Regions from separate parts of the Homo sapiens genome. Here region 1 is linked to region 2. The links are contacts of gene promoters, found by promoter capture Hi-C in human tissues and cell types (Jung and others, 2019). All regions are on one chromosome and are shown on one strand. Each heading gives the region's core, a stretch centred on a gene start or on the middle of the fragment in contact. The rest is flanking DNA. Distances are from core to core; before and after follow the strand shown. Region 1 overlaps NCAM1 (neural cell adhesion molecule 1). Region 2 holds the start of NCAM1 (neural cell adhesion molecule 1).

Region 1 (3,899 bases), core at 321-2,820, 49 kb before region 2:
AATTCTTCAGCCTTTCCTTGTCCTTCAAGACATTGACAGTGTTGATGAGCATAAGCCCCTTGTTTGGCAGAGCAAAGCAGACTGCTTAACGATCCCCTCCAAACACAGTCATTTCCTTTTATGGTTGCTTATGCTACACAAGGTACCACTGCTACCATCTCTCTATTTTTCTACCCTTCTCCTCACCTGCTTAAAAATCCTACCCCAATGCTGGAGAGGATGTGGAGAAATAGGAACGCTTTTACACTGTTGGTGGGACTGTAAACTAGTTCAACCATTGTGGAAGTCAGTGTGGCGATTCCTCAGGGATCTAGAACTAGAAATACCATTTGACCCAGCCACCCCATTACTGGGTATATACCCAAAGGACTATAAATCATGCTGCTATAAAGACACATGCACACGTATGTTTATTGCGGCATTATTCACAATAGTGAAGACTTGGAACCAACCCAAATGTCCAACAATGATAGACTGGATTAAGAAAATGTGGCACATATACACCATGGAATACTATGCAGCCATAAAAAATGATGAGTTCATGTCCTTTGTAGGGACATGGATGAAATTGGAAATCATCATTCTCAGTAAACTATCGCAAGAACAAAAAACCAAACACCGCATATTCTCACTCATTGGTGGGAATTGAACAATGAGATCACATGGACACAGGAAGGGGAATATCACACTCTGGGGACTGTGGTGGGGTGGGGGGAGGGGGGAGGGATAGCACTGGGAGATATACCTAATGCTAGATGACGAGTTAGTGGGTGCAGCGCACCAGCATGGCACATGTATACATATGTAACTAACCTGCACAATGTGCACATGTACCCTAAAACTTAAAGTATAGTTAAAAAAAAAATCCTACCCCAAGTAAAGGCCCTCAAAAAGGCCTCCCCCAATGATGAATCCTTCAGTGACTCCTGATCTTATGACTCCTCCGCTTCTTGAATTCTACAATAGCTACTGTCTTAAGTGTTCATTTGACACATAATGATAACCTGACTTTATTGTCATGTAACTTTTCATGTGTGTGGGTCATATCTTACCAAAGTCCCCCTGACAGGCAGTACTATACACTCAATATGTATTACTTGAAATTAATTAAATTAATATTTTGAGTAATTAAATACTTGGTACTCTCGCCAACTGACTTTTCCTGTTGAGTATAGCATAAAAGAAAAATAGAGAGCAGGTCTTTCAATCTCAAAAAAGTCAGTAATTATCAATCAGTAATTATTTCTATAAGAACAATTATTCTTTCAGGGATACAGCTGATGTTTGCTCATTAGCTGAAGGCACTCTGGAGAATAGAATATGACTCATAAATAACAGGTGAGGTGGTTTTATTATCAGCTATTGTATTGAAAAGCTATAGGATCCTGTTATTCATCAGAATAAGGAAAATGAAGCAATTAAAATCAAGCCTCACTAATTCACATTCATATTATTAAAAGCCCATCTGACTAAAATAGAGAAGTCTGATTTATAGAATATTTCTGAGGAAATACATTTTAATTCTTTCAAGTATAGAGTTATTTTTTAAAACCAAATCATAATGAATTGCTAAAGGTGAGATCCTACTTTAATAAATATATAAAAAGGGTCTGCAATTAGCATATCATAGCCAAAGACATGAATCAACTAGAAAGCTAATTTAGTTCAGGATCGAATGTGAGAATGCCTGACATCCTAGTTTTACTGCAGTTTCCTACTTTCAGAAAATATGAAATTGGTTCATTAGGTGGTTTTGCTTTTCCTTTTTAAACTGAATTAACTGTTCTTTTTTTTTTTTCAAGATGCAGCTCAATTTCCTAAGTCAAAGAAAGTTTCAGTACTTCTTAGCCTGTACACTGGTCTCTGCTTACACTGGGAATTGTAGACAGTGGATAAATACAAGCTTCCATGTGCCTGAAGATCTTGGTCTCTTATGCATCTGTTGACTTTATTCCCTTCCAGTAGGCCCCCTTTTCACAGACACAAAAACATAAGCATTGCTCTAGTCCCTTCTGCATTGTCATGAATAACAGGGTCTTCCAAACCCATATTACTCCCTTTATCTTCTACAATCCCAAAACATCTGTAAGACCCTGATCTCATTTTTTCAAACTCAAAATGTGGAGACATGGTCTTGGAAAAGTTTTCTGACCTGTGAGTGGAGTTTAGAGATGAGTCCTAGAGAGGAACAACATTAAATCACATTCGGTTGCATGGAGACTCCTATCCTCACTGGATGGCTAGATGTGCTCACTCTCACATACAGAGACTGTTTAAAACCTTCCAATTACCAACCTGGGCAACAGGGTGAGAACCCAGCTCTACAAAAAATACAAAAAATTCCCCAGGCGTGGTGGGCACCTGTAGTCCCAGCTACTCGGGTGACTGAGGTGGGAGGATCACCTGAGGCCAGGACGTTGAGGCTGCAGTGAGCCATGATCACACCATCACACTCCAGCCTAGGTGACAGAGTGAGACCATCTCAATAAAAAAAAAAAAAAAAAAAAAAAAAAAAACCCGAAAAAACCCTTCCAATTAAATCAGCCCAATGGAGACTTCCTGCCACCACAGATTTCAAGGTCTAGTCTGACTAAGCAGGTAAATTGTTTGCCAATTTTTTGATAATTCTACCGACGTGGTCCTACATGAGTCTGTCCTATTTGAAAAAGAAAAAAACGAATTGAGATGACTGTGTGCCAAACATAATGTCTATGAGTTTCCGTCAGAAACTGAGTTCAAGGCTCAGTTTCTCAGGCTAACTAACATTCTCCATGAATAGCAAAATACTTAGACCAGGTTATTGCACTCTCCCGCTGTGACACCCCTGAGGCCCCCATGGGAGATCGGTCAGAAAAACACAGGACAGTTTGCAGCTTGTGTTGACCTTTCCTTGGTCTTCCATTCTGTGCACTTGACTCAGCTCTATTCAGGCTCAGTGGGCCATACTGAGCCCAGATACTGCTGATGTTGTGTCTATCACCAAATGCCAGAGTTTAAGGAAGAGCAGTAAGAATGATCTCCAGGGGATCAGAAAACATTTCAGTGTGTAAAACAAAGAGATGTTTGGTTCCCTTTCTTTCTGACTTTTAACTTACTGATTTAAAATCACTACAGAAATCGAGAGATGAGTAACCTCCAGATGATATGATTTTAGTTTCACTAGTTTGACAGACAATTGGTGACTCGATGGAACTATTTAGTATCAAGAAGAATGGCTTCAGTTTGAAATCAAAACCATAATTTTGAGAAGCAGTCCTCCAATATTAACTGGCTTAAAACCAACAATTCATTTAGGGGGATAATTTGCAACTAATATATGGGGAGAGTTTTGCAGGAAATAAAATTAGACATGTGGACCACTAAAATATTTCCACGGCTGAAATGAGTCATTGTTAATCCTGCTCTGAAACTGTCTTGGCTACATTCATTATAGCCATGTATTACCACTTTGCTTTTCTTGAGGTGTGCTCTGGAGAGATCTCCTCAGCTTGCAAGGAAGAAAGCCATAGAAATGGCCATGTGACCCCTGCCCCCCTATCTGTGATTATTCTGAAAGCCAGTATTGGAGTATCATAATGTAAACAGTCCAACTTTGAGGCTAAATTCTCTGATCCTCTATCAAAAAGTGTCATAACTTATATTCATAATCCATGAGATGAGGCCATACTGGAATAAGACTATGAAGAAGAGGGACTTTCAGCAACTCTTAGTTACCATAATTAATGAACTCTAAGTCTCCATGTGTTGTAAGATGCACCATTATTTTATGGACTAAGAAAGAAATAAAAGCTGTCAATTAAATTGACACGGTGCCTTATTACTTCAAATTTTTTTATTTTCCACCTATTATGGAAGTTATTTTATACACAGACACATATTTTTACCATATATCACTTTTA
Region 2 (4,481 bases), core at 107-2,606:
GTGGAGGTGGGGGGATGACAGCTGGAGGGGAGGGTGGGCACGCACAGAAGAATTTTCCAGGGAGGCCGGGATGGAAATAGCCAAAATGAAATGCACCTCCCTGCACACTGCCGAGGTTCTCTGGGCGGCGGCGCAACCCCCGCCACCCGCGGCAGCATCACTACTGTCTTCCTCCCAGCTCCCTATTGTTCACACTTTGCCAGGATCGGGAACCTCGCCCAAAGAAAGGAGACAGGGCGAGGTGTTTCGGGCGGCTACCTGCCATTCTTCTCCCGCCCCGTGCAACACTGGGCACGCGGCGCGTGTAAAGACACACGCGCGCACACGCGCGCGCACACACCAGGCAGCCCCAATCACGCCCTCCTCGCCCTCCGCCCCTCCGCACTTCCTCCTGTCAAAACGCGGCGCTCGACCCTCCCATCCTTCAGTGCTCGCGGCCGAGGGTAGGCTTTGCAACTAACCAGCAATTTGGCAAATGAAAAACTAACGTCATGTCGACTGGGGTGCAACAACGGTCACACCAACAACAACGGCCGTGCGATTCTGCCCATTTTGCCCCATTTTGCAAACCGTTATTCTTCTGGGGCGGGGGAAGCAAAGCAGCGATCCTGACTTTATTAGACCCAGGAATATAACGATCTGGGGCGGCTGCCCTAGCCTTATTGTTCACTCTTCCCGGAGCCGGGGCTGACAAGCCACTTCCCCCTCGGAATCCGAGCCCGTGCGGCGGCACCACCCGAGCCGCGACCTCCCCCGCCCCGCCGCCCGCCTTTGGGGAAGGAGCGCTGCCCATCACCAGCGCGGCCGCTGAGTCCCCAGGAGCCGGCCGGCTCTGCTCCCACCGCCGCGGGCGCACAAAGTGGGAAGGGCGGACGCGCCGGAGGGGCGCCGGGCGCTGGCGGCTCGGGGAGGCAGCCCCGTGCAGCGCAGCCCTGGAGGGAGCGGGGTTCGGCTGGGCAGCAAGGGCGACGCGCTCCTTTCACAGCTAAACGAAAATGACCAGCCTTAGCAGTCCACGTAAAACCACCCAAAATAATAGCGTTCCTCCTAGGAGTAGGAGGAAGGGGTAATTAGCAAACCAGATTGAGAATTAAAAAAAAAAAAAATGTACCTGCAGTTCCCAGGAAAAACAAAGTCCAGATGAGATCCTTAGTTTGCAGCATTGTAATCTGCTGGCTGGGAGGGATGTTCTTGCCGCGGTAAATTCTGTGCCCCCCCCCCTGCAGCGAGTGTGGACGGCGGCTGAGCGACAGACCTAGGGGCAGACAATTGCCAGGCTGAGTATGATTATTTTTGCAGAATTGTTTCCTGCCAGCGGCAGCCGAGCTGCGTTCACGCGCTGATCGGAGAATGAGTGACAGTCCCAGCCTCAGCACACTCGCAACTCGGAGATCCTTGCGCTGGCCCGGGTTCGTTTTGATGGAACTGGGATGGGAGCGAGGAGCGGGGGGCGGGGGTGAGAACCTCACTGTGTCCTTCCACCACGCCGGCCACAAATAGTGCCGAACATCAAGGAGGTAAGAGAGACAGGGGAGGCAGATGCGGAAGCCTGCAAAACGCGGCCTGGAGCTTTTGGGGGAGCCGGGCTCTTTCACACGCAGTCTCCCTGGGAGAGCTGGGATTTCTTTTCACACTTCTACCCTACGCCTTCGCAGGCGCTCCTGCTACCCAGCCTTCCTTAATCAGCAGTTTGCATATTTTGATAACTAGTAAATAATAAAAGCAAAATTTTAGATTTGGTTAGGTAAAGTTGTCAAATCCCTCCATTTCGATTCTAAGATCCTTGCAACACAAGGATAGCCCAGGACTTTAAGTGCGGGAAATTAGAACTTTGGAGAGGGATGGGGGTTGCCGTTGCTGGGTGTTGTTTGGATATTGTTTGTTTGTTTGTTTTATCCTAACTGTGAAGTTTGCTCTCCCACAGAGAGACATACAACACCCTTCAGCAGATCCCCTGGGAAGGAGGTGGGAAGAGACTTAAGTTAGAAGAAAACTCCGATGTTTGGAAGAGATTTCCAGAAATAACCCGAAGAAAATGTTTTCCTGTTTATAAATTCTGAAATCTGTGGTCTCTTTATTAAAATAGCCAGGCTTTTATATAGGTATTATGATATAGAAGCGTCATTAAATAATATTTTCTTACATGGGGACGTGACCTTAATTCTTAAAGATATTAATGTATAATATTACTGAGGTACCAACACAATAGGCTTTAATTAAAATTCCACCCGTGTTTTCAAAAGTAGGGGGTGGAGAAAGCGGGGTGAAAAGAATCATGTCTCAGCACCTGAAGGCTTGGGTATGTAAGGAACTAATGTGAGAAAGGTGTTCTAGATGTCAGGTTAACCCATTAGCCTAGAACACTGAAACCCTCTAACAGAGGAAGTCTGCATAAGTTCAAAGGCATTAAAGCACTAATGTTACCGGGTACTCCGTTTTTCTTCAAAGGTCGGCCTCCCCACTCCTGTAGCAGGTTTTTTGTTTTGTTTTGTTTTGTTTTGTTTCTGTTTTGTTTTTTTGAGATGGAGCCTCGCTCTGTCGCCCAGGCTGCAGTGCAGTGGCGCCATCTCTGCTCACTGCAACCTCTGCTCCCGGTTCAAGCGATTCTGCTGCCTCAGCCTCCTGAGTAGCTGGGATTACAGGCGCGCGCCACCACGCCCAGCTAATTTTTGTATTTTTAGTAGAGACGGTGTTTCACCATGTTGGTCAGGCCGGTCTCGAACTCCTGACCTCGTGATCTGCCCACCTCAGCCTCCCAAAGTGCTAGGATTACAGCCGTGAGCTACCGCACCCAGCCGCTGTAGCAGTTTTTAAAAGTCCATCCTCTACTGTCAGGACATCCATCCTTATTGGACAGGCCCCATCTCTTCCCCACTTTCCTCCTCTATAATAGACCAAGTGGGCCACACCAGTACAGTGTAATTAGCTTGGACCCCTGAAAAGTATTTCTTCCCCCAAGTAAATCTTCCACAACGTTTACTTTGGGCTATTTCTCTCATTCCAAGTATAAACAATTCAAAAGTACAGAAAAGTAGAAAGAACTAAAAATAACCCCAAATCCCACAGATTCCAGAGATACTCATAGATTTTGTCTTCTGTATGTGCATATGATTTTTATAATTGACATATTATAGTAGCAATTTGAATCCTGCTGATTTTGCCTAACATCAGTATAAGCATTTATTCCTCTGGATCATTAAAAAGCTTTTCTAGATATTTTTATAGCTATGTAATATTTCTTCATATGGATGATTTTGCAATGGTTTCCCCATTTTTGCATATTTATATTGTTTGTGGAGTTTGATAATATAAATAAGGCTTTTTTGAACATCTTTCAACAAATATTTGCGGAGCAACCACTGGGTTTAGCCCTGTGCTAGATGCAGTGAATTATATACGTCTTTTTTTAATGGTTGCTGTATTTAAGTGTCTTTGATTTCAGACTTCTGCTTCTAACATCTAAAATCACCACATTAAATATTACAGATTTATGTAAATGAATGTTATCAGACTCTTTCCTTAAAAAAGAGGTTTTGATGGTGAGGAAAGATAGAGAGAACAGGCAGGGGGTAGAGTGGGGAGAGTGAAGGTTGGGGCCCCCAAAATAAAAATTTTTCCAATTTTGCCCCTAAGAGTGAGAGACACATTCTTCCCTGCAAACCTCCCTCCTTATAGTCCTGTCAGTAGAATTAAAAGACTCCTCACTATTTTTCTCCCCAAATGTCCCTATTTTTAGCTTTTCAATGTAGGCAAGTGTGGAAATCCAATCTCACTTGAGTATGACTGAATTTCTTTTTTTTCCCTCTCTCTCTCCAGCCCCTCCCTACCCCGTGTGGTTGTTGATCTCTGTTGTAATGATTCATTCTAGAATGCTGCCCCAGTCATTCCAGTCCACACTCCCAGTATCACTCCCAAATTCTTTTAACAGGATATGTCACTTGTCTCCAATTCTGTATATCTCCGCTAGTCGGTGCCTACATCTGTGAGCTCTGTTGCGTTTCAATCCCTTCCTGATCCTCATTTTAAAATGGACAAAACTGTGGCCCTCACTGGACCTCTCTCCCCAGAGAGAGGCCCAGGCTGTCAGGCACACATTAATGAGCATCTACAAAGTGAACATCCATGGGATTGAGGCAGAGGAAGGAGACTCCAGACTGTGCTTTAGAGAGAAAGTTCTTTAGAGAGGAAGCAGAGAATGGTCCAAGAAGACAGCCATGGCAAGGAGACAAGCTAGGAGGCCATGATAGCTCTGGATAGGGTGACAGGGACTAATTAAGAAAGCGACAGTGGGAAAGGAGGCAAAAAGGAGCCCAGATTTGCAATTCCAAGATAAGATAAGAACAGGTGGACCTGGGTATGTTGTGAAGATGGAAGTATGAGGCAGAGGAAGAAATCCAAGTTCCTTTCATTCATTCAACAAATATTTATGGATTCTCAACTAAGTGCCTGGCACTGCTCTGGACACTGGGGATGTAGCCGTG

What was found. Contacts are between HindIII fragments. The study calls those that stand out against the background at their distance.
Region 1: a contact is called between a fragment that was not itself captured here and the fragment with the promoter of NCAM1 in region 2, in 2 of the 25 tissues and cell types used here (hippocampus and liver).

What each region holds. Positions count from the first base shown.
Region 1 is chr11:113,007,930-113,011,828 of GRCh38, reverse strand. The region is part of intron 1 of NCAM1 (neural cell adhesion molecule 1); the gene reads right to left. Among named protein-coding and RNA genes, the nearest start is that of NCAM1-AS2, 46 kb to the right of the region's middle. The HindIII fragment of the contact is 7,126 bases long and covers 1-3,899 here.
Region 2 is chr11:112,958,295-112,962,775 of GRCh38, reverse strand. It overlaps NCAM1 (neural cell adhesion molecule 1), which reads right to left and starts at 1,356. Exons shown (of 20, transcript NM_181351.5): 1 at 1,112-1,356. The coding sequence starts at 1,163. NCAM1-AS2 (NCAM1 antisense RNA 2) reads left to right here. Exons shown (of 3, transcript NR_120563.1): 2 at 1,300-1,409; 3 at 1,925-3,497. RefSeq lists an enhancer at 636-1,413. The HindIII fragment of the contact is 9,849 bases long and covers 1-4,101 here.